Linked DNA regions of Homo sapiens: all the other regions are linked to region 1. The links are contacts of gene promoters, found by promoter capture Hi-C in blood cells and fetal thymus (Javierre and others, 2016). All regions are on one chromosome and are shown on one strand. Each heading gives the region's core, a stretch centred on a gene start or on the middle of the fragment in contact. The rest is flanking DNA. Distances are from core to core; before and after follow the strand shown. Region 1 holds the start of RASGEF1B (RasGEF domain family member 1B). Region 2 overlaps LOC105377308 (a long non-coding RNA gene). Region 3 has its middle 140 kb from the start of HNRNPD. Region 4 has its middle 80 kb from the start of HNRNPD. Region 5 overlaps LOC105377308 (a long non-coding RNA gene). Region 6 overlaps HNRNPD (heterogeneous nuclear ribonucleoprotein D). Region 7 has its middle 32 kb from the start of HNRNPD.

Region 1 (3,658 bases), core at 279-2,778:
TAAGGCATAGCCATCACATGCCAAGCTCTAGCTACTGTTTTCACGAGGAAAGGGCAATTATTCACCCCATCTGAGTGTGACTGTGCCAGACATCATTCAAGAGTGCACCACCCTGATCCCTAGACTCTTCCCCTTTATGCACCCAGTTCAGAGACCCTCCCTTCGGCCATTAGACCATCTGAGCTAAATATAGATCTACACACACCAGCAGTTCCTGACCGTCGTCACATGGTGCTGACGAAGGACTCCTTGGAGACGCGTTCGGCCCAAACACATACACAAATTTGTGTGCATATTCATCTATATACACCATATCCACCGAATTCATCAGGGAGGATGGACACATCTACATTCCGAAGAGAAAATCGCCGTCTAGACAATCTCCTTGTGTTATCTGCCACACTTGTGCCACCCTCGGCAGTGTCAGAGGATTAAGCTACGTTGCTTTTGCCTGAACTGCGCCGATTTGGTTGGGGCAAGACAGCAAGCAGTATTGAAATGGTACGTCCATACACACACACAAAGGCGCGCGCACCCCAGCCCCCGTCTCGCCCTTTTCCCTGGTGCAGCACTTAAGTTGTTTTCACAGCTCCCTTAGAAAGAACCTCCCTTAAGCTGACTGCCCGCGAGGCTCCTAGATACCTCTAGCTCATCTGAGATTCCCCAGGCAGGTGACCCGAGGCGACTCAACTGAGCTCTGGCAAAAGCAAGGCGACTCAGTGTCTCCCAAGTTTGCCAGGTGAACACCGAAGGATGACAGCACATCACCTTGTCGGTGGCGAGTATGTGACTTCTGTTCCCTTGTCCCTTCCTACGAGTCAGACTTTAGATTACATGGCACTGACAACAAAAATAAACAGCTCCCCCTACACACACACGCACACAAAACTGGTCAAGAAGTGGAAGAATCAACCTAGGTATGCACACGAAGGAAAGAAGGGATGAAAAAAATGATGGACGCGATTACAACTCAAGACAAATCCTCAAAAACCACCTATCTCGAGACAGAAGGCCTGGCTGCAGGATCAGGGAGAAAGAGGGAAGGCACAACCCAACCCAACCCAAGCCTGGCCCTGCCCGGGTCCCAGCGGCTCGGCCTCGCACCTGTTGGGGCCGCGGCAGTCCCAGGTACCCGCAGCGGCCGGGCAGGGGCCCTCCCCCGGTCCCGGGCTGTAACTCGGCTCTTGGCGCCCGCGTTCGCGCTCACTCGCCTCGGGATCTCCCGCCGCCTCGGAGCGCACCCGGCAGCCGGTGAAGTCTCTGAGCCCCGCTCGCTCCCCGCGCGGCCCAGGGATCTCCAGGGAGAGCGCAGCGCGCAGTAGGGTCCGGAGTTCCCGCTCCGGGCTGTGGTCCCCCAGCCGGGAGAACAACCCAGCCAGGGAACAACCTACCTGCAGGTGAACTCCGAGTCCTCGGCCTCCCGGCTGCGTGCCGCGCGCCCACAAATGCGACCAAAGGACAGGGAGCTAAAGCGCGCGGGAAGAAGAAAAACAAAATCTGTCTAACCAGTCGGGTTCCTTGTTTATACTGAAACTACGGCAGCCGCCGCCGCGCACGCCCCCCTTGGCTCAGGCGCCTGCCTCCCGCTGCCAGCCCCGCCCCGCCCCGGCAGGCGCGGGCCAATCACCGCGCAGCTCACCGCCCACGCCGCCGCCACCCGGCCCGGCAGGCAAGTCCCAGTGGGCCCCAGACTCCCGCAGCGCGTCAGCCTGGGTGCCCTCCCACGCGGCAGAGGCCCGCGGAGCCCAGCGCAGCGGTGTTTAACAGCGTTGGTCAGGCTGGCTCCGACTGTGCGCGTTTCCTCTTGAGTGCACCTGCCCCGGGCTGTTGTGCAGTCGTGAGTGTGTGTGTGTTCATTCACGTGTATACTATCTGTAAATACCGGCCCGACTCGTTACACAGTATTTATTAACATAATTGTGAGCTAAAGGTTACTGTCCATGTAACTTTCAGAAGAGAGCGGAGAGGAACCACAGAACATTTGCTTAGCAAATAACACATAGATCCTGGTGCTAAGCACTGTGCAAAACGCTGGGGGCACACTTGGCAAAGTAGGCTGGTCTCTGCCATTGTGAAACTTACATAGTCTAGTGGAGGACAGACATTCAGCAAATAATCACCCAAACAAAATGTAGAATTACAGCTGCTAGAAGTTGCACGGAGAGGAACCTGTTCCGTGAAACATGATTCCGGAGGCAAAGCAGGGAGGCTAGTCCTCAGTGAGGGCTGTGTTGTCATGGTAACCACGTACTCACTCCATCATGGGATATTTGATAACTATTTCAGAAAAAAGGTAAAAACCTCCGTACTTCACTTTGTACACATAAAAGGAGGCCAGAGGGAAATAATGATGGAAACAAGGGAAGAAAGAGACCTATGAAAAGAAAAAATTTACAGAATTAGGAGACTCTTACCAACTGTATTTCCTTGAGTAAGTGATACAGCTTTTCTGAGCTTCAGTTTTCTCATATATAAAACAACACTATTCATACCTGTCCTATACTGTTATAATTAAGATTACTGAGGGGGAGGAATCCTTTTCCCTCCTGCTCCATGGGTCCCTCCCCCTCTCCTTCCTGGGGTGGAGTCATTTTGACGCTCACTTTGTCTATTCTTAGCGGATTCCTCTTTCATTTTCTTCATTTATGCCTCCTTTTACTTTTCTTCCTCTTTATGATACTCCTTCCCTCCTTTGTGTAAATAGGACTCCTCTGATTCAGTAATTCACTCTAACCTACTTGAGCCTTTGACTTAACCATAGCTTCTCTGCAGTTTAAATGAGAAGCCATAAGGCCAAGGGAACTTGGTGGGCCAGCCATGCAGAGTGAAACACAGAGGCTGGGTGGCCCTGCCCTGCTGTTGTGGTTGTACTGGTTGGTTGATTTTTCAAGCTCAGTTTTTGCATCCCGATTCTGTAACAAACGAGCCATATGACATTGGGCCAGTCACTTACACCCTTGACATTACTGATCCTGTAGCCAGAAATTAAGAGTTGCAGGGGATTGCTGGCAAGATGGCTGAATAGGAACAGCTCCAGTCTGCAGCTCGTAGCGAGATTCACACAGAAAGCATGTGACTTCTGCATTTCCAACTGAGGTACCCAGTTCATCTCACTGGGACTGGTTGGACAGTGGGTGCAGCCCACGGGGAGTGAGCTGAAGCACGGTGGGGCATCGCCTCACCCGAGAAGTGCAAGGGGTTGGGGAATTTTCTCCTCTACCCAAGGGAAACCATGAGGGACTGAGCCTGAGGAACTCCAGCACAGATACTGTGCTTGTGCCAGTTTTCGCAACCCACAAACCAGGAGATTCCTTCCAGTGCCTACCCCACCAGGGCCCTGGGTTTCAAGCACAAAACTGGGTGGCCATTTGGGCAGACACCGAACTAGCTACAGGAGTTCTTTTTTTTTCCATACCCCAGTGGCGCCTGGAACACCAGCGAGACAGAACCGTTCACTCTCCTAGAAAGGGTTGCTGAAGCCAGGGAGCCAAGTGGTCTGGCTCAGCCGGTCCCACCCCAATGGAGCCCAGCAAACTAAGATCCACTGGCTTGAAATTCTCACTGCCAGCACAGCAGCAGTCTGAGATCAACCCAGGACACTCGAGCTTGGTGGGAGGAGGGGCATCCACCATTGTTGAGGCTTGAGTAGGCAGTTTTA
Region 2 (3,378 bases), core at 369-2,868, 800 kb after region 1:
AATAGATTTTCTACATGCCAAAATTAGCCAGTTTGAAAACCTTATGGAGAACAAATTCCATTAACAAGAACAGCCAAAATATCCCAGAATAAATGTAACAAAAATTTGTCAAGCCTTTATGAAAAAGATCATAGGAAGTCAGTAGAATAAACAGAAAGACAACTCATGTTTCTAGATGGGAAGACTCAATGACTGAATATTGTAAATATATTAATTATCTCCAAATTGTTAAATGTAAAGTCATTTAAGCTACAATTACCGAATCATTGTGATATTAGCACAGAAATGAGCACAGAAATCAACCCTAAAGTCCAATGAACAATATATATATATAGAACAATATACAATATATATAAAGTCATATATATATATAAAGTCATATATATATATGGGACTTTAACCTACGGTAAAAGTGGCATTTCAAATTACTGTGGAAGCCAGATGCAGTGGTTCATGCCTATAATTTCAGCTAGTTGGGAGGCTGAGATGGAAGGATGGAGCCAGGAGTTCGAGGCTGTAGTGAGTGATGATAACCCCACTGCACTGCAGCCTGGGTGATAAGAGTGAGACCCCATCCCTCAAAAAAAAAAAATGAGTGGGGAAAGGATATTCAGTAAGTCTTATAAAATAGTTGGCAGTAGGATTCTGTGGCAAGATGGCCAAATAGGAACAGCTCCGGTCTGCAGCTCCCAGTGAGATCAACACAGAAGGCAGGTGATTTCTGCATTTCCAACTGAGGTACCTGGTTCATCTCATTGGGACTGGTTGGACAGTGGGTGCAGCCCACAGAGGGTGAGCCAAAGCACAGTGGGGCATCGCCTCACCCGGGAAGTGCAAGGGATCGGGGAATTTTCTCCCCCACCTAAAGGAAGCCGTGAGGGACTGAGCCTGAGGAACGCCGGCACAGATACTATGCTTGTCCCACTGTTTTCACAACCTGCAAACCAGGAGATTCCCTCCGGTGCCCACCCCACGAGGGCCCTGGGTTTCAAGCACAAAACTGGGTGGCCATTTGGGCAGACACCGAACTAGCTACAGGAGTTCTTTTTTTCCATACCCCAGTGTTACCTGGAATGCTAGAAAGACAGAACCGCTGACTCCACTGGAAAGGGGTGCTGAAGCCAGGGAGCCAAGTGATCTGGCTAAACAGGCCCCACTCCCACGGAGCCCAGCAAACTAAGATCCACGGGCTTGAAATTCTCGCCGCTAGCACAGCAGCAGTCTGAGATCAACCTGGGATGTTCCAGCTTGGTGAGGGGAGGGGTGCCTGCCATTGCTGAGGCTTGAGTAGGTGGTTTTACACTCACAGTGTAAACAAAGCTGCTGGGAAGTTCAAACTGGGTGGAGCCCACAGCAGCTCAGCAAGGCTGCTGTGGCCAGACTGCCAGATTTCCCTTCTCTGAGCAGGGCATCTCTGAAAAAAAGGCAGCAGACCCAGTCAGGGACTTATAGATAAAACCCCCATCTCCCTGGGGACAGAGCACCTGGGGAAAGGGGCAGCTGTGGGCAAAGCTTCAGCAGACTTAAACGTCCCTGCCTGATGGCTCTGAAGAGAGCAGCGGACCTCTCAGCAGAGCGTTCAAGCTCTGCTAAGGGTCAGACTGCCTCCTCAAGTACGTCCCTGACCCCCATGTATCCTGACTGGGGGACACCTCCCAGTAGGGGCCGACAGACACCTCACACAGGAGAGCACTGGCTGGCATCTGACAGGTGCCCCTCTGGAACAAAGCTTCCAGAGGAAAGATCATGCGGCAAAATTTGCTGTTCTGCAGCCTCCGCTGTTGATACCCAGGCAAACAGGTTTGGGAGTGGACCTCCAGCAAACTCCAGCAGATGGGCAGCAGGGGGCCTGTCAGAAGGAAAACTAACAAACAGAAAGAAATAGCATGTCCACTCAAAGACTCCATCCAAAGGTCACCAACATCAAAGACCAAAGGTAGATAAATCCACAAAGATGGGCAGAAACCAGTGCAAAAGGCTGAAAATTCCAAAAACCAGAACGCCTCTTCTCCTCCAAAGGATCACATCTCCTCGCCAGCAAGGGAACAAAACTGGACAGAGAATGAGTTTGACAAATTGACAGAAGTAGTTTTCAGAAGGTGGGTAATAACAAACTCCTCTGAGCTGAAGGAGCATGTTCTAACCCAATGCAAGGAAGCTAAGAACCTTGAAAAAAGGTTAGACAAATGGCTAACTAGAATAACCAGTGTAGAGAAGAACACAAATGACCTGAGGGAGCTAAAAAACACAGCACGACAACTTCGTGAAACATACACACGTTTCAATAGCTGAATCAATCAAACAAAAGAAAGGATATCAGAGATTGAAGATCAACTTAATGAAATAAAGAGAGAAGACAAGATTCGAGAAAAAAGAATAAAAAGGAACGAACACAGCCTCCAAGAAATATAAGACTACGTGAAAACATCAAATCTATGTTTGACTGGTGTACCTGAAGGTGACGAGGAGAATGGAACCAAGTTGGAAAACACTCTGCAGGATATTATCCAGGAGAACTTCCCCAACCTAGCAAGACAAGCCAACATTCAAATTCAGGAAATACAGAGAACACCACTAAAATACTCCTTGAGAAGAGCAACCCCAAGACACATAATTGCCTGATTCACCAAGGTTGAAATGAAGGAAAAAATGGTAAGGGCAGCCAGAGAGAAAGGTAGAGTTACCCACACAGGGAAGCTCATCAGACTAATAGCAGATCTCTGCAGAAACCCTACAAGCCAGAATAGAGTGGGGGCCAATATTCAACATTCTTAAAGGAAAAAATTTTCAACCCAGAATTTCATATTCAGCCAAACTAAGCTTCATAAGCGAAGGAGAAATAAAATCCTTTACAGACAAGCAAATGCTGAGAGATTTTGTCACCACCAGGCCTGCCTTACAAGAGCTCCTGAAGGAAGCACTAAACATGGAAAGGAACAACTGGTAGCAACCACTGCAAAAACATATCAAATTGTAAAGAACATCGACACTATGAAGAAACTGCATCAATTAATGGGCAAAACAACCAGTTAGCATCATAATGACAGGATCAAATTCACACATAACAATATTAACCTTAAGTGTAAACAGGCTAAATGTCCCAATTAAAAGACACAGACTGGCAAGTTGGATAAAGAGTCAAGACCCATCAGTGTGCTATATTCAGAAGACCCAGCTCACATGCAAAGACACACATAGGCTCAAAATAAAGGGATGGAGGAATATTTACCAAGCAAATGGAAAGCAAAAAAAAAAGCAAGGGTTGCAATCCCAGTCTCTGATAAAACAGACTTTAAACCAACAAAGATCAAAGAGACAAAGAAGGGCATTACATAATGGTAAAGGAATCAATGCAGCAAGAATAGCTAACTATCCTAA
Region 3 (3,776 bases), core at 317-2,816, 760 kb after region 1:
GATTTTAAATGAATAAGTGGTAATAATACATGAAGTAGTCATATGAATATTATCAAACACTATTGACTATACACATCAAATGTAGAAGTAAATGAGGAAAAATGGTGACTTCATCAAAGCTTATTTTGAATTTCAATTTTCTTCATATTTGGTTAAGGTGTAAGTGGCCTGAGGAACGACAATAAGTTCTACAGCCTTAGGCTTCCAGGCTATTCTCAGGACTTCTCCTTGAGTCTGTGTTGAGAAAGCAAAAGACAAACTCATGAAGGTCACCCTCTGGCAAAGTCTCCCTATCTTCTTAAATAAATTTCACCAGTGACTAGAAGTAATATTGAATGGCTTGGTCTTAATAAGAAATTCAAAGAATATTCTTCCGTTGATTAACTAAAAAGGAACAAGGGATTTTCTGCCATAGTAATATTCACCATGCAACACCTGGAAGCAGCCACATTCACCAAGACACAGAAGCCTAGAGAATGAGGGTCAAGGCTGCACCTGTTGCAACATCTACTTGACTTCCTACTCCCATTTAGGGTGCTGGCCCATAAAATGGGTAGTTGCTATGGGACTGACAGATAGGAGCAGAGTAATCCAGGAGGTACATGGATAGTCTTAACTAAGAATGTGACTATTAGGAGCCTAGTGGTAGGGCTTGGATACCTAAAAATCAAGTTGCTACTAGGCTAGATGCCCTCGGAAATGGTCAAGTCAACTATAATAATAATTGGAGTGCCTACCATCTGACAGACTCTTTGCAAACATTATTAATAAAACAACTCCACAAGATCAGAATGATTGTCCCCATCTTGCAAATTAGGAAACTGAAGGTCAAGAAATTAAGTCATTTACCAAGTACATGTAGTTAGTACAGTGCAGAAAAAGCATAACCCAAATAGGCCAGTCTGACATCCAAGTCCATGTACCAGACTTCCTCACAAACCCACTTACCTGAAGCGTAGAACTGCAAACGTATCTTTATGCATCCATGCGAACTTTTTATACACTTGGATCTGTTTTATGTGTACAGTCTTTAGAAACAAAAACACAGAAATCATCTAAGATGGTGGTCATATTTTACATAGTACATATCAAGACATTATCTGAGAAATTATTTTGTGTCAATTTCTGGATGTAATATCCAATCTGTATGATACAATGTAGATTACACCACAATGGAATTTTTGATGGTGTTCATAGAACAAAAAGAAGGAAATTTTAAATCACTCCAGAAAATAAAGGATAGATAAATAAATAACTATGAGACAGAGTCCCTACTTATAAGATACTTTCACACAGAGGGGGCAAGGCATAAAAAAATTAAATTAAAAAAATACTAAATAGCATGTAAGTCAGCTAGCTTTCAACTGCACTTAACATAAGAGCCAATTAAATGTAGCAATTAAGATAAGAGCCAATTAAACTAAGGTGTTGCATTTCCAATTCTAGCAACATGGATGACTAAGTACTATGGCTAACACTACCATTGTAAACAATAGACAACACTGAATAAAATATTTTTAGTCTTCTAAATGACAAGCTGAGTATTCCAATTAGTAATAAATATTCAGAGCGAAAAAAACACTTGGTGGAAATGGTGACCAGAGAGGAAGAACACAGAAGCTGCCTTTCACCTTGAAGGATTCACTGAACTGTATGAAGCTGAGCCATGAGAGTTTCAAGGCCTCACAGGCTGATTTGGCTTGGCTTTCTGTCCCCACGCAAATCTCATGTCGAATTGGAGGAGGGGTCTGGTGGGAAGTGATTGAATCATGGGGGTGGATTTCCCTTTTGCTGTTCTTGTGATAGTGAGTGAGTTCTCACAAGATCTGATGGTTTAAAAGTGTGTGACACTTTCCCCTTGTTCTCTGTCTCTCTCCTGCCACCATGTGAAGAAGGTCCTTTCTTCCCCTTTGCCTTCCGCCATGATTGTAAGTTTTCTGAGGCCTCCCAGTCATGCTTTCTGTAAACCTGTGGAACTGCGAGTCAATTAAACCTCTTTTCTTCATAAATTACCCGGTCTCCAGTAATTCTTCATATCAGTGTGAGACTGGACTAACACACAGGCCATAGAGGATAGAAGTCAATGACAAGCCATCCCAAGAAGTGAGGCACATAGAAGATGGTCCCACACAGAGCAGGAACTGCCTATCCCCAAAGAAACTACACCCTCAAAATTCATGTGGAGTAGAAAAACAAAACCAGATCTCCAAAAGGGAAATTTCAATCCTGGTGTTAAATATCAACCCTGAGAATTTTTGTATCTACAAGTTGGCCCTCATAGCAGCCCAAATTCCTACCTAAAAAATTCAACTTCACTCAGAATTTAAAATAGCCCCAGGCTGGTGATACCTGCAGTTACCTGATACAAGGGCAAATCCTCCATGATGTAAGCTACCTTCAGCCTAAACTAAAAGGAATGATCACAGATAAGTTCAAAAAAATATGAGTTCATAATACATACAAAAGAGATACAGAACACATACAGGAACAACATATGCTAGAGGCAGAAAGAGCAGTTCGCAGAATCAGATCTGCAAGACCTCAGCTATTAGAATACTCTGATGCATCTTGCTATAAGTATAATACAACATAGTATAATATAAAGAATAAATGAAGGCATTGAAAACATAAGAGCACCACACTATAAAAATCTCCAAGTAGATTTGAAAAAACTGTATCATAGTTGACAAAAGAATTAGTGAACTAGAAGATGAATCTGAAAAAAAATTATCCACAATAGAAAACAGAGTCAAAAAGATGAAAAATATGAAATAAAATTGAGTCATGGAAGAAAGAATGAAAGGGACTAAAAATAAACCTCTAATAGGAGAGTTTTTTTAAGGGAGAGGAGAGAGAGTAGAGGCAATATTTGAAGATATAATAGCTAAGAATTTTCCAGAACTGATAAAAAGATACCAATCCACAGATTCGAGAATTCCAATGAATTTCAAACAAGATATATAAAACACAGCTAAACAAATTATATTGAAACTGTAGAACAGAAAAGAAAAAGTAAAGCTTTTTTAAAAAACACCCTAATGAAAGGCAGAGGAATGGCAATTGGACTGTGAGCTGACTACGCAACAGCAATAATGTGGACAAGAAGATAATGGATTGATAACCAAAGTGGCAAATGCATGCTTAAATCTAAACAAATGCAGACTATAAACACAATAATAAAAAGGACTTGTGTGGTAAAGAAAAACAGCAATGATACCACATAAGTTAAGGAGACAGAAAGCAGTGAAATGTTCTACCATCATTATGTTGTCTAAAGGAAAGTAAAGACATTGGCTAATTTTAGACTTAGGTGACTTAAATATACATATTTATGTTACGGGGTGAATTGTGTCCACCAAAAAGATATGTTCAAGTCTTAACTCCCGATACCCATGAATGTGACCTTATTTGGAAATAGGGTCTTTGCAGATGTTGAGATGAGGTCATACTGAGTTACGGTGGGCCCTAATACAGTGACTGGTATCTTTAAAAGAAGAGAGAAATTTGGACACACGGACAGGAAGAAAATGTCACTTGGTGATGGAGGCAGAGATTGGAGTGATACATCTACAAGTCAACTCGTTTTATTACGAGTCTAGCAAAACCTTGATTCAAAAACTTGTCGAGGGCAGAAGGACAAAAGAAATTACAGCCCAGTATTTCTCAGGGACACAGATGCAAATATCCTAAGGAAAATATCGGTGAACAATAGAACAATGCATAAAAGAGAAAATATATTACAAACAAGTTGGTTTTACCCCAGGAATGAAAACTTA
Region 4 (3,348 bases), core at 23-2,522, 820 kb after region 1:
TTGAAGACCTTTTTTTCTGAACTCCAGACTCGTATACCCACTTGTTCCACTCTGCTTGAATGTCTAATTAAAGTATCTCAAACATATCCAAAGCTAAGCCTCTTCCAGAAGTCTTCCACATATCACTTTTCTAGTTCCTCAGGCCTAAAACCTATAGTATTCTTGACTCTTGTCTCTTTTATATTGAAATCCAATCCATGGGCAAATCCCATTGCCTGTCCTCTCCAAATAGTAACCAAGCCACCATCATCTCCTGCCTTGATCACTCAATACAAAGCCATCTTTCTCATTTTGTTTCTGATTTCTAATGGTTACTTTTTTCTTTGTTTTTTAAACGGAGTCTCGCTCTGTCGCCAGGCTGGAGTGCAGTGGTGCAATCTTGGCTCACTGCAACCTCTACCTCCCAAGTTCAAGCGATTCTCCTGCCTCAGCCTCCCAAGTAGCTGGGATTACAGGTGCGCGCCACCATGCCCAGCAATTTTTGTATTTTTAGTAGACATGGTTTCACCATGTTTGCCAGGATGGTCTCGATCTCTTGACCCTGTGATCCGCCCACCTCGGCCTCCCAAAGTGCTGGGATTACAGGCGTGACCCACCGTGCCCGGACCTAATGGTTACTTTTTTTAAAAGTTTCATTAATAACATTTTTATTATGCAAAATATATATGCAGTACCAAAGTCAAATCTACAAAACAGTTCCTTCGAGAAGTCTAATTTGCATTCTGTTCCTCTCCTTACTACTCTTTCCCCCTATGTAGGTAACCATTTTGAACAAGTTTTTGGTTTATCTTTTTTTCTTTTCTTTTTTCCTATAAGAAATACATTCTATAAGAATACATTAGCCGGGTATAATGGTGCACACCTGCAGTCCCAGCTACTTGGGAGGCTGAGGTGGGAGGATGGCTTAAGCTCGGGAGGTGGAGGTTGCAGTGAGCAGAGATTACACCATTGCACTCCAGCCTGGGTGAGAGAGCCAGACCCTGTCTCAAAAAAAAGAACACAATATAGAGTACATACAGTAGCCCTCCCTTATCTGAGGGGGATACATTCCAAGACCCCCAGTCTTGTGGATACCTGAAACCACAGATGGTACCAAACCCTATAAAATATACTGTGTGTTTTTATACATATATGATAACATTTAATGTATAAATTAGGTACAATAAGAAATTAACAACAATAATAATAAAATAGAGCAATTATAACAATATTCTGTAACAAAAGTTATGTAAATGTCATCTTTCTTTCTCTCTCTCACAAAAACATCTCATTGCATTTTACTCACCTATTTTTGGACTGCGGTTGACCATGAGTAACAGAAACCACAGAAAGTGAAGCCACAAATAAGAGACTACTGTATGTACATTTGAACTTCCCTTATGGTAGCGTATGATGTGATAGATAAATGATAGCACATCATGCACACTTTTCTCCACCTGGCTTTTGTCAATTAATGATATCTCCTGAACATCAGATATTCAAGTTGTTTTTAAGATTATAGATGCTTTCTGAATATTACTCATAGTATTAATAACATACTAAGCATAAATTTAAAATATCTCTTTTTCACATGCAGTATCAATTTACTTCAAATTACATGTGTAACTTTCAGATAGATGGTACAATTAGCAACTCTTTTTCAGCGGACTCCACCAAATTTTTAAATAAAAATGTTTTCTAGGTGGAGATTATGTGTATAAATCAATATAATCATTAAAAACATTTGTAGCATATTGTATTCATGATATGATGTGAAGGATTTACACTGAAAGGGTTCATATGTTAAATTTTCTGCCTCTGAAATTATCTTTTCTTCCTGTTTCTGAGTTTCCTCATTCTCATATATATTCAATTTAGCATTTGACCATGTCTGTTGCCTGTTAACCATTTAGAGATAGTATTCACAAAGACTAAAGTCTAGGCACCAAGCAACTATTTTTGTTGCATATTCCTGCATTTTCTGGATTGTTGGGCAGTAAAGGATGGAGGCACTTTCCAAGGGGATTCTAGCCCCTACTGTGGGACTCTGAGAAGGCAGAAAGGTCTAGATGGTTGAGTGGTCATGCTAAGGTTCATTTTAACATACTGTGGTTCACTTTAACATTCATTCCTCCCTCCCCAACTCATCCTGAATATTTGGTATTTGCAGTTTACAAATTTTTAATTCTAATGTATAGAAAACCAAGATGTACCAAAATTAAATATGTCTACCTAAAATATAGACATACTAAAATTCAATGAACATAGTATTTTCTGTGTTTGTTTTTGTTTTACAGGCAGAGTCCCACACTTTCGCCTGGGCAGGAGTGCAATGGCGCAATCTTGGCTCACTGCAACCTCCACTTCCTGGGTTCAAGCGATTCTTCTGCCTCAGCCTCCCGAGTAGCTGGGATTGCAGGTGCCCGCCACCACACCTGGCTAATTTTTTGTATTTTTAGTAGAAACAGGGTTTCACTATGTTGGCCAGGCTGGTCTTGAACTCCTGACCTCGTGATGCACCCGCCTCAGCCTCCCAAAGTTCTGGGATTACAGGTATGAGCCACCGCATCCAGCCAAACATAGCATTTTCTATTTAGTCAGAATCTTGATTCAGTCTTAGAATGTGAGTGACTTCAAATATAGATATATATATAGGCCAGGCGTGGTGGCTCACACCTGTAATCCCAGCACTTTGGGAGGCCATGGGAGGCAGATCACTTGAGGCCAGGAGTTCGAGACCAGCCTGGCCAACATAGTGAAACCCTGTCTCTACTAAAAATACAAAAATTATCTAGGCATGGTGGCACATGCCTGTAATCCCAGCTACTCGGGAGGCTGAGGTAGGAGAATTGCTTGAACCCGGGAGGCAGGGGTTGCAGTGAGCCAAGATTGCACCACTGCACTCCAGCCTGGGCGACAGAGTGAGACTCCATCTCAAAAAATAAAATATATATATATACCAAATTATTAGTTTTCTCTTTGATTTATTTTTATTGATGCAATTTTAAATACATATTTAAATTCTACAGATTTCACTTAACATAATTTACTTCAATTTTTCAAATATATGAGAGGTCTTCTAATTATTATGCTTCTTTGTTTTTGGTTTTTTTATTTTTGTTTGAGACAGGGTCTCACTCTGTCGCCCAGGCTGGAGTACAGTGGCGTGATCATGGCTCGCTGCAGTCTCAACCTCCTGGCTCAATCAATCCTCCCACCTTAGCCCCCCAGGTAGCTGGAAATACAGTGTGGCGTGCACCACCATGCCCAGCTAATTTTTTTGTATTTTTTGTAGAAATGGGGTCTTGCTATGTTGCCCAGGCCAATCTTCAACTCCTGGGCTCAAGCAATCCTCCCACCTCAGCCTCC
Region 5 (3,786 bases), core at 484-2,983, 780 kb after region 1:
AAGTCTTCAGACTCCTGCACTTGCATTTCACCTCTAAGAAATTTGCAAAACTAGTGAGCTTGCCATTAGGACTTTAGTGCTCTTCTGCATAGTTTTAAGTGAAACATCTAAATTTTTATTATAATTAGTTTAAAAGGATAATTTTTGGCGTGCTGTATTGGTGTCTTAACATGTGTACAATCGAATCTAAATATAGCAATTTGAGACTCATTATCACTCATTAAAAAACAAGCTCTTGGCCAGGCGCAGTGGCTCACGCCTGTAATCCCAGCACTTTGGGAGGCCGAGGAGGGCGGATCACTTGAAGCTAGGAATTCAAGACCAGCCTGGCCAACATGGTGAAACCCAATCTCTACTAAAAATACAAAAATTAGGCCAGGCATAGTGGCTCACGCCTGTAATCCCAGCACTTTGGGAGGTCGAGGCGGGTGGATCACAAGGTCAAGTGTTCATGACCAGCCTGATCAACATGGTGAAACTCTGTCTCTACTAAAAATACAAAACTAAGCCGGGCGTGGTGGTGCGTGCTTGTAATCCCAGCTACTCAGGAGGCTGAGGCAGGAGAATAGCTTGAACCTGGGAGGTGGAGGTTGCAGTGAGCCAAGATCACACCAGTACACCCCAGTCTGGGCAACAGAGCGAGACTCCATTAAAAAAAAAAAAATAGCTGGGAGTGGTGGCACATGCCTGTAATCCCAGCTACTCAGGAGGATGAGGCAGGAGAATCACTTCAACCCAGGAAGCAGAGGTTGCAGTGAGCCAAGATCATGCCACTGCACTCCAGCCTGGGCGACAGAGCAAGACTCCTTCTCAGAAAAAAAAAAAAAAAACAAAAACCTCTTCTTTAAAAGATGAAAATTCTTCATTTTTCTCCTTTAACTCTGAACCACTTAGGGTTCAGTACAAGAAACAGAAACCACTCAAGGCATTTTAAGCAAAAAGAGATTTAATATAGAGAATTGGGTTTTTACAAAATCACAGAGCGAGCTCTAGGCTTCCAAAAGTCCAGCATAGGTAAATGCACAGAGACAGAAAGTAGGTAAGTGGTTGCCTAGGGATGGGGGCAGAGGATGGGACATAGGGGTTATGAGTGTGATGGGGGAGATGAGGAGTGACTGCTAAAAGAGTACATAGTTTATTGGAACATAGGCCTGTTCATTCATTTATGTATTGCCTATGGCCGCATTCACATTGCAATGGGAGACCTGAGTAATTACAACAGAGGCTGTATGACCCTCAAAGCCTAAAGTATGTACTATTTTGTCCTTTAAGAAAAAGTTTGAGAAATAAAATGTGGCACATATACACCATGGAATACTATGCAGCCATAAAAAATGATGAGTTCATGTCCTTTGTAGGGACATGGATGAAATTGGAAATCATCATTCTCGGTAAACTATCGCAAGGACAAAAAACCAAACACCGCATGTTCTCACTCATAGGTGGGAATTGAACAATGAGAACACATGGACACAGGAAGGGGAACATCACACTCCAGGGACTGTTGTGGGGTGGGGGGAGTGGGGAGGGATAGCATTAGGAGATATACCTAATGCTAAATGACAAGTTAATGGGTGCAGCACACCAGCATGGCACATGTATACATATGTAACTAACCTGCACATTGTGCACATGTACCCTAAAACTTAAAGTATAATAATAATAAAATAAAGAAAGAAAAAAAAAAAGAAAAGAAAAAGTTTGCCGGCCAGGTGCGGTGGCTTACACCTGTAATCCCAACAGTCTGGAAGGCAGAGGCAGGTGGATCATCTGAGGTCAGGAGTTCGAGACCAGCCTGGCCAACATGGTGAAACCCCGTCTCTACTAAAAATACAAAAAAAATAGCCAGGTGTGGTGGCAGGCGCCTGTAATCCCAGCTACTCGGGAGGCTGAGGCAGGAGAATTGCTTGAACCCGACAGGCAGAGGTTGCAGTGAGCCAAGATCGTGCCATTGCACTGTAGCCTGGGTGACAAAAGCGAGACTCCTCTTCAAAAAAATAAAAATAAAAAAGTTTGCCAACCCCAGCTTTTATTCAAAGATGCAGCGTTGAACTGTCAGGAATAAATATGTAAACTTTCACCTTCTCTTCCTTGAAATAAACCTAAAGGAGCACCCAGGACACAGAATGAGATGCTGGGAAAGCAAGTCCTCACCAAGCTGTTTCTCACTAAGAACTGTAAAAATTCAGAATGGTCCACCTTGTAAATTGGTATTTCCCAGTGTGCTTCTTGCTTCTTGCTTTAAATATTCTAATCTATGATAGATAAACAATAGTTTTATTTTCAAATGGCAATATTTATATATGCCAGAAATTACATCCTTTGCAACTATTTAAACTTATGATGATTAATTTTAGATGTCAACTCTAAAATGTATGTGGAATACATAGCTATTTTTGTGTTTGTTTTTTTCAAAATGCTTGAAGAGAGCATGCAAGCAAAAATGTTGAAAGATCACTGGCTGAAAGAAGAAAGTCCATCTTTGATTTTGGCAAGAGTTTCAGGTGAATGTATAACCTCCCTCCACCCCAACTAGAATTGCCCTAATGATTAGCTTTTTTTGTAATTTATTAAGGTACCTGGTGTCTTTGTTCATTTGCTGTATCACCTTATAGAAGTTTGCAGAAGTAAAGCTCTACATACAAGCTATTTGGGTATGGACACACATGTGAAAAGGAAACTAACATCTACTGAGCATCTGCCACTTGCCAGACCCTCTACATAAATTCTCTTATTAATTCCTCACAATTTTACTTTGAGGTACATGTTATTATTATGTTAATCTCATGTTATAGCCTAAAAAAGATACTAAGTGATTTCAGGTAATATACTCAAAACCATATAACTAGTAAACAACAGAACTAGCATAGAAACCCAAGACTGACACTAAAGCCCATGTATCTTCCATTCTCTGCTCCGCCTAATTCAACTTTCTGATTCCTCAGTTCTACATAGACATGTATCTGAGTCCATGACAAGCAAGTACTCTGGAACCTATGATGGTACTACTTAGTCCCTAACAGTCCCTGACACTTAGCTCCCCTATCATTATTTTTTAAATTTAGAAAAATAAATGTTTTTAGACAGAGTCTCACTGCCACCCAGGCTGAAGTGCAGTGGCATGATCACAGCTCACTGCAGCCTCGACCTCCCAGGCTTAAGCAATCCCCTCATCTCAGCCTCCCGAGTTGCTGGGATTACAGACACATAACATCACACCTGGATAATTTTTGTGTTTTTAGTGGAGATGGGGTTTCACCATGTTGCCCAGGCTGATCTCAAACTCCTGGGCTCAAGCAATTTGCCCACCTCAGCCTCCCAAAGGGCTGGGATTACAAGTGTGAGCCACTGCACCAAGCCTAAAAAAATTTTTTGATAGCGACAGAGTCTTGCTATGTTTCCCAGGCTGGTCTCAAACTTCAAGGCTCAAACGATCCTCCCATCTTGGCCTCCCAAAGTGCTAGGGTTACAGGCAGAGCCACTGCACCTGGCAAGTTCCCCTATAATCATTGTTTGGAAAAATATTCAAACCACCTAAGTACCAGTAGGTGACTGGCACCAGCCAGTCCAAACAAAACCCAGTCTAAAGATGGGGACAGGGCCACCTGTGTTTACCAGTTGACTATCAACCCTGCCTAAAAGCATAGCATCTTCCAAAAAGCTGAAAAGGATGAACTTGCCCAACCATCTCATTGTTTTCAGATAAGGATGCTAAGGACTCAGAGATTAATGCCCTACTAAATGTCACACCATCAGTGGCTGGCTAGGCCAAAATAGAATCTCCTG
Region 6 (3,762 bases), core at 557-3,056, 890 kb after region 1:
CATTATACTCACTCCCAATTTTGGAATAGTATTCTTTTTCTATGTTCTATAACTTCGTATTATTTTTACTTTTTTAGAGACGAGATCTTGCTCTGTTACCCAGGCTAGTCACAGAACTCCTGGACATAGCGATCAGCCTCCCAAAGTGCTAGGATTACAGGCATGAGCCACCACACCCAGCCAATCCTTTAACTTTTAAACACTTCCTAACAACTTATGATCTTACATACATGGCTTTATAACAAGTTCTGACAGTTTAAAAAATACAACAGAATGTCAACCTGATATACATTTCAGGTATAAAACATAAATGACCAATCACTGTCATCTTTTAAAGTAATGTTACTCAAGCACACCATTAAATCCTTACTGAATTTTTCCAGTATTTTATCCATCATAATTATTCTTCTAAAATCCTAAAATGACAAACTAAAGCTAAGTCACTAGTTACCTAAGGGGAAGGGAGGAGGTTACAATGCAACTAGATAATATCACACGTTAGGGTATTTTACAAGTTGTATGAAAACTACCTTGGGAGAGAGCTTGACAAGCTTTCATCGAGTTCAAATACTAACCAGCCTTTTTAGATCTGATCTGGTATAAAATTCATGAAAACCACTTTTTTGAGACAGAGTCTCGCTCTATTGCCAGGCTGTGGTGCAATGGTGTGATCCTGGCTCACTTCAACCTCTGCCTCCCAAGTTCAAGCAATCTTCCCATCTCAAGCTCCTGGGTAGCTGAGACTATGGGTGCACACCACGAGGCCCAGCTAATTTTTTTTTTTTTTTTTTTTTTTTGTAGAGACAGGATCTCATCATGTTGCCCAGGCTGGTCTGGAACTCCTGGGTTCAATCTGCCCACCTCAGCCTCCCAAAGTGCTATATTACAAGCGTGAGCCACCGCACCCAGCCCACTTTTTTTAACTATTTAAAACTAATGAGACATTAAGGTTAGCCAATAACAAATCTTCCCCAAAAAACACTTTAGTCAATAAAAATATAAATTTTGGTATTATTTCCCCATCATTAAAGAATAGGTATTCCTCTCCCCCAGCTTTCTACAGATGACATTTTCAAGGTAAGTGTGAAAAAGAATTCCATTTATTCAAGACTAATATACAATGGACCAAACATTTTCAGAGACTTCTCTGTATTAAATCTCATTACTTCACACTTTAGAATGAACCTAACTAAATGACTACTAAAAAGCGAAGTTGAAAAAATAAACATCTAATAAATGAAACATGACAGTTTTTTTGGGAGGGGGACAGAGTCTCGCTTTGTCGCCCAGGCTGGAGTGCGGTGGCGCGATCTTGGCTCACTGCAACCTCTGCTTCCCGGGTTCAAGCTCTTCTCCTGCCTCAGCCTCCCAAGTAGATGGGACTACAGATGCCCACCATCATGCCCGGCTAATTTCTGTATTTTTAGTAGAGACAGGGTTTCAACATGTTGGCCAGGTTGGTCTCGAACTCCTGACCTCAGGTGATTCGCTTGCGTCAGCCTCCCAAAGTGCTGGGATGACAGGCATAAGCCACCGCGCCCGGCCAACATGACAGTTTTTTAAATAAACTTTTTTTTTCTTTTTTTGAGACGGAGTCTTGCTCTGTTGCCCAAGCTGGAATGCAGTGGTGCAACCTTGTCTCACTGCAACCTCCGCCTCCAGGGTTCAAGTGATTCTCCCGCCTCAGCCTCCTGAGTGACTACAGGCGCATGTAACCACACCTGGCTAATTTTTGTATTTTTAGTAGAGCTGGGGTTTCGCCATGTTGGCCAGGCTGGTCTCCAATTCCTGACCTTAGGTGATCCACCCATCTTGGCCTCCCAAAGTGCTGAGATTACAGGTGTGAGCCACTACGCCTGGCCTAAAAATAAAACACTTTAAGAGACCAGGTCTCACTATCAAAATGCAGTGGCTCCATCATAGCTTCCTGCAGCCCTGAGCTCCTTCCTGGGCTCAACACATTCTCCTGCCTCTGCCTCCTGAGTAGATGTAACTACAACTACAAACACACCCCCCAACACACTAGCCTTTTTTTTTTTTTTTTTTTTAAAGAAACAGGGGTCATATTATGTTGCCTAGCTGGTCTAGAAATCCTGGCATGAAATGATCCTCATACCTCAAGACTTCTGAGTAGCCAGTGATTACAGGCACGAGCCACTACTTTAATTAACTTTAAATGCTTAATCCAATACCTCCTTTTCACTTCACTACAAGGAAGCAATGACATCTTGTATGTTTACGTTTTAAATAAGCTCTCAATCAGCTTTGTAAGGTAAACTCCCATTTACCTAGAGGTTAAGGAATAGGTATTTTCCTTAACCTGAAGGTTAAGGTTCTGGTTAACTGAGATTACTACATATTCACAATTCTATAAAACTGTGTACTGGAAATCAATTTAGGTATCAATGCTGAAGTCAGAAAATGATTTGTACCTTGATGAATTTTCCAACGTTTTAAAATCATGTTACTTTTCAAAAGTGTAAGGAAAAATCTGTAGGAGATTCATTCCATGACATTGTCTGTTGGTTGCTTTTTGAGTATATTTTCTCATGGCTTCATCTATCTTGCTCATAAGACTAAATGGGGAGACAGACTTCCTGGCTGTGTGGGCTCTGTGGTAGTCTGAAGTCTAGATAAGCAGGAGTTTACAGTGCAAGACCCAATACTTAAACTGTCACCTTGATTACTGGCCAAGCACCACCAGTAAATTGGAGTCTTCCCTCCCCACCCCCAAATATTCTTAAATACCTAGCTCCAACGTACAATATAATACTCCAGAAACTAAAACATGCTTACCTTTACTCCACAGGAGTAAATCACTGGCAGTATCAACTATTAGGGCACTGGATAAATACACACAAGCTATGAAAGCAGGCTATGTAGTCAATCCTCCTGTGGTGAGCATTGTTTCCAACACATAGATCAGCAAACCAAGTAACAAACATGTCGTATTACCTGAAACCACACTGTTGGAAGTGAAGCAACAGAAAGAGATCCCACGCTTTCAGCATCCAGTTCAGTGCCCTATCTACTAAAACGTTGAAGCAGAACTGAAGTCAAATCAAGCTTGGACTAACATAAGTTATGTTTCACCCATTTGTAAATGTGCACACACTTGAGGTACACAGCTTCCAAGTGGAATGGGAAAAAAAATTACTCTATTCCTTTTTAAATGCTTTCAAGCATGGTATGTATTATGACTTGAAGGCTAAAACTAATCACATCCTTCACGTTGGCATAAATAGTATACTCAATATGTATACTCAAATGTATACTCAATAGTATACTCAAAATGTTCTCGTATTAGGGCAGCCTTACCCTAATATTATGTATTAGGACGATAGCAGAGTACCCAGGAAATATTAAAAACATACACTGAGTTTGTAGAAAGGGTCACATGGCTTAAGGGAAAAAACCCCAGATTTAAGGCAAAGTATGTGTATCTCAAAAACAAGCACTGAAAAACTTCAATGACATTCTCCCAATTCCAAACTTAAAAAACGAGATTATTTTTAGTATCTTTCATAATAGATGAAAATTTACAGTGAGAAGTATTTAATACTCTTCGCTTAAATGTTCATCTAAAGATCTGGGGACATCAATTTCTGGAATTTTTAACTCGGGAAATTTGTCAAAGGCTCCCAAGAATGCTAACACTGAGACCAATCTACGCAGGGTCTCAACTTTACTACATACAGTAAACCCAACTGTACTGAATCAAAGGCCAGTAAATTTGGCATGAGACTACTCTAAAAGAAATTA
Region 7 (3,834 bases), core at 1,298-3,797, 870 kb after region 1:
GATTAAATTATTGTAATCTTCCTGCTTAGCCAGAAGTGAAATGACTTTGACCTTAAAATCAGATTTTAGAAATGAGAATTTTAACATCAGTACAGTTCAGAGATACACATTCACCTCTTCTACAGTTTTTTCATTTGAAATGAAAATTCAAACTATCATGTTTTATACTATGTATTTCCTTGTGTAAGGATTAAAAAATTAGTAAGTCATATCATTTTCTCTAACAAATCATAGAGAGAGGACATAGGTCCTCTCCTCCTATCTCACCATCCTAACAGCCTTTAAAAAAATACACTTCCTCCAGTAACCTCAACTTATTAAGATTTCAAATAACTAAAGCATCCAACTTTACTTTGCAGTTAGTAACAAGGCGTCATGGGTTCTGTTTCCCAAGTGGGAAACTGAGGTCTGAAGTCTGTTTTATAAGTCCCTTAGTGATTCCTGAGGAACAGACATCCTGACTTCAGGATAACTCATTTTAATTCTGGTAATGATCAAATACCAGCATTTTAAATAGCCACCAAGCTCATTATTCCTCCAATGCAATACCACCTTTCCATTCACAAAATATTTTTTAAAGGATCTTAAATGTTAGAAACTTTGGAGTTTCTGTAGTTCAGACTCAGGAAAAAATAGGCGATATGTTGACTGCTTACTCTGATACAATGTACTAAGTATCTTGGAAGAGGGGTGTCTCATTTAATTTTACAATAATACTATTAAGCGAGTATCACATAAAGCACACAGAACAGTGGCTGGCATAAAAGTGCTGTGTAAGTTAGTTCATATTATCAGCTTTATTTTGCAGATGAGAAAATAGCAAAGTTAAATGGCATGTTCAAGGTCACACAGCTGGAAAGCTAAGATTTTACTGACTGCTAAGATAAGCCCTACTGTGGCATATAGCCATGGAACCCATAGAGTAATAATTAAGATCCCTTAATTATGGGTCAGACAAGATACATCGTATTATTTCACTTCTTGTCAGTTTAGTAGGTTGTTTTGGCAGGGTAGAGACAAGAGTAGTTGGAAGAGGAATAGTCATGTATTTTGCTGCTGTTATTTTCGAAGCCCTATAAAACTTGCCCCTTAACATCTCTGTAAAGTAAAATTATGTATAAAACATATTTGTATCCTGATCACCAGTTAGTAGCATAATTATTGCTAGAGAACTGTGAACTTAAAGATCACCTAATCTAACCTCTTGCACTTTACATGTTAGGATATCAAGACCAAAAGTCTAAGTGAATTATGTGTCTTTGAGATTTTCTCTTCACTGGTAGCATGCTTAAAGCACAGGCTATCACCCTGGTTCCAAGCAAGAAGTCCTACATAATACTTGTTTTCTAAGGCAGTCTTTAGAGTTTAAGAGTTTTCAAGATAATTTATATTTTTATGGGCTGTCGAATGCTGCCTAGTAAGGATTGTTTCCCTGGTATTTATGCTAGAACTGTCAGAACATAGCTTGGCAGAAACAAATATTAAGTGATCTTGGATTTTTCATCTATTTATGCTTTCAAATAGTATTGAGCTCCTACTCTGCACCAAAACAATTCTAAAACATTATGGTTTATCCTAAGCTACTACATAGATAGAAATAACTGATGTTTGAAAAAATAGAATGATGTTTGTATATAGACATGTAAGACCTGGTCAGGCTCAGTGGCTCACACCTGTAATCCCAGCACTTTGGGAGGCCGAGGCAGGCAGATCACCTGAGGTCAGGAGTTCAAGACCAGCCTGGCCAACATGGAAAACCCTGTCTCTACTGAAAATACAAAATAAAAATTAGCTGGGCGTGGTGGCAGACACCTGTATTCCCAGCTACTCGGGAGGCTGAGGCAGGAAGAATTACTTGAACCTGGGAGGCGGAGGTTGCAGTGAGCTGAGATTGCGCCACTACACTCCAGCCTGGGCAACAGAGTGAGACTCCATCTCAAAAAATAAAAATAAAAAACCCTAAGGCCTATCTCTAATCCTTTAGGAAAGCTTACATTCCAGTTGAAGGAAGAAGTCCAACAAATATCATAAACAGGTTAAAGCAACAGCATCAATATTTAAGTGGTACATTGCATGGCAGAGAATAAGTTAAGAGATGATGATCAACACAGGCTCAAATCACTGAGGAAGATTCCATTGGTTGTAAGTGGGATAGGAATTGGATCTTATTAGAAATCGAATTTATTTCTACCATGAAGTGTCATAAATCGAATTTATATCAATAGGTAAAGGCAGTGCAGTTAACAATAACAATTAACTTATTGAGCACTTGTGTTCCAGTAACTGTTGTAAGTACTTTAGAAATCCTTCTTTAATTCTCACAACCCTGATGTAGGCACTACTGTTATTTCCATTTTACACATGAGAAAACAGAAGCATAAATGCCCAAGTCTACTGCACTAGTAAGAGGAACAGCTTGCTGTGGGGGTGCACAAGGTGGACTATGCATTGGTGGTGTTCAATTATGTTATCTTTCAGTCATTCAAGTGGCCTGCAGCAGAACTCTGTCTTGGGTTCTCTTCATTTCCCACTCTGCAACGTGCTCTTATTCACTCCCATGCTGTTGCTCTCTCCAGATCTAACCCCTCTTCTGAATTCCAAATCATTTCCCAATTCTCTACTAGATATACCCACTTGGATACCACGCAAACACTTAAGTTTAGATCCCCAAACTATACATTCTTCCATTCCCCCACAAAACCTGCTTATTTGACTTGATTTCCAATCTCAATAAATGGGATCACAGCTATCCTGTAATCTACAAACTCTTAGCCTACCTTGACTCCTCCCTTCTGCTCATCTTCTCTTTCCTAATTAGTCACCAAAATCATAGGGCTTCTGTGTCAAATCTCCTGAAGGTTCATCAGCCAAGGAAGTCCAGAAGAGCTGCAGAAGCAAAAGTAGGGAGTTCCCTGAGGGTGCCGAGGCAAACTTCGAGAAAGGGTACTCCTTCTATCATGGTTGATGGCTGTCTCTACTCCCGAGCCTGGCCACATCACACTCCTCTTTGTATTCAGTATGCCCAGCACATGTAAGTATTAACATTTGGTATTTTCAGATGCATGATTTCCATAGCTCTTAAACATGGTTAATATCAACAAATGTGAAGCTTTGGTTTTCAATTCTCAGCATCAGAGTCACCTAATGATCTTAATAATACATGTTCCTCGGCTCCACCCCTGAGGATTCTGCATAAGCCTGGGATGGGGCCTCAAAATGTTTGTTTAACCTCACAATGAGGCCGAGAACTGCTAACCTCAAGCACTTTTACATGACTATCATTTAATGTCCATTCCTAAGAAAGGTAATATAATTTTACACTTGGAAAAACTGAGGCTTGGAGATGGTTAATTTACCCAATATCACTGGGCAAATGACAGAGCTGGGCCACAAAAGCATTCATTTGAAATAATCTATTCCACTGAATGTATTAAACTAGAAACTTTTAAAAATCTGCTAAATAGAATGCCCCACATATTTTAATAAGTCTAAAAAGGATTATTTTAAGTTGTTTTGAAAGTTTATATTATCCCACTATAGGATCAAGGCCTCTCAGAGAATCTCACAGAATCATGGCAGAACCTAGAATAACAAAAACCATTAAATTCTGGCCTCTGATTTATTTATGTATTTATTTTTACGAAGTCTCACTCTTTTCCCTCAGGCTGGAGTGCGATGGCGCGATTTTGGCTCACTGCAACCTCCGCCTCCCGGGTTCAAGTGATTCTCCTGCCTTGGCCCCCCAAGTAACTGGGATTACCGGCACCTGCCACCACGCCCAGCTAATTTTTTTTTTTTTTTTTTTTTTTTTCAGTTGAGATGGGGTTTCACCAT

What was found. Contacts are between HindIII fragments. The CHiCAGO score rates a contact against its expected background, and 5 or more counts as called.
Region 2: a fragment that was not itself captured here is called in contact with the fragment with the promoter of RASGEF1B in region 1 in 1 of 17 cell types (total B cells); the score reaches 5.8 in total B cells.
Region 3: a fragment that was not itself captured here is called in contact with the fragment with the promoter of RASGEF1B in region 1 in 8 of 17 cell types (endothelial precursors, total CD4 T cells, monocytes and 5 more); the score reaches 6.8 in endothelial precursors.
Region 4: a fragment that was not itself captured here is called in contact with the fragment with the promoter of RASGEF1B in region 1 in 7 of 17 cell types (neutrophils, naive B cells, naive CD4 T cells and 4 more); the score reaches 10.3 in neutrophils.
Region 5: a contact is called between a fragment that was not itself captured here and the fragment with the promoter of RASGEF1B in region 1, in 1 of 17 cell types (erythroblasts). The highest score is 6.5, in erythroblasts.
Region 6: a fragment that was not itself captured here is called in contact with the fragment with the promoter of RASGEF1B in region 1 in 2 of 17 cell types (naive B cells and M2 macrophages); the score reaches 7.6 in naive B cells.
Region 7: a contact is called between a fragment that was not itself captured here and the fragment with the promoter of RASGEF1B in region 1, in 1 of 17 cell types (total B cells). The highest score is 5.9, in total B cells.

Annotation. Positions count from the first base shown.
Region 1 is chr4:81,470,379-81,474,036 of GRCh38, forward strand. RASGEF1B (RasGEF domain family member 1B) reads right to left here and starts at 1,529. Exons shown (of 14, transcript NM_152545.3): 1 at 1,392-1,529. RefSeq lists a silencer at 1,461-1,870. The HindIII fragment of the contact is 14,883 bases long and covers 1-3,658 here.
Region 2 is chr4:82,270,832-82,274,209 of GRCh38, forward strand. The region is part of intron 1 of LOC105377308 (a long non-coding RNA gene); the gene reads right to left. Among named protein-coding and RNA genes, the nearest start is that of HNRNPD, 100 kb to the right of the region's middle. The HindIII fragment of the contact is 217 bases long and covers 1,511-1,727 here.
Region 3 is chr4:82,233,207-82,236,982 of GRCh38, forward strand. No RefSeq gene overlaps it. Among named protein-coding and RNA genes, the nearest start is that of HNRNPD, 140 kb to the right of the region's middle. The HindIII fragment of the contact is 2,899 bases long and covers 118-3,016 here.
Region 4 is chr4:82,292,180-82,295,527 of GRCh38, forward strand. It overlaps the pseudogene VAMP9P. Among named protein-coding and RNA genes, the nearest start is that of HNRNPD, 80 kb to the right of the region's middle. RefSeq lists a silencer at 1,234-1,434. The HindIII fragment of the contact is 4,339 bases long and covers 1-3,348 here.
Region 5 is chr4:82,250,492-82,254,277 of GRCh38, forward strand. The region is part of intron 1 of LOC105377308 (a long non-coding RNA gene); the gene reads right to left. Among named protein-coding and RNA genes, the nearest start is that of HNRNPD, 120 kb to the right of the region's middle. The HindIII fragment of the contact is 8,771 bases long and covers 1-3,786 here.
Region 6 is chr4:82,364,999-82,368,760 of GRCh38, forward strand. The region is part of intron 2 of HNRNPD (heterogeneous nuclear ribonucleoprotein D); the gene reads right to left. Among named protein-coding and RNA genes, the nearest start is that of HNRNPD, 7.1 kb to the right of the region's middle. RefSeq lists an enhancer at 872-1,543. The HindIII fragment of the contact is 2,515 bases long and covers 550-3,064 here.
Region 7 is chr4:82,340,342-82,344,175 of GRCh38, forward strand. No RefSeq gene overlaps it. Among named protein-coding and RNA genes, the nearest start is that of HNRNPD, 32 kb to the right of the region's middle. The HindIII fragment of the contact is 1,120 bases long and covers 1,988-3,107 here.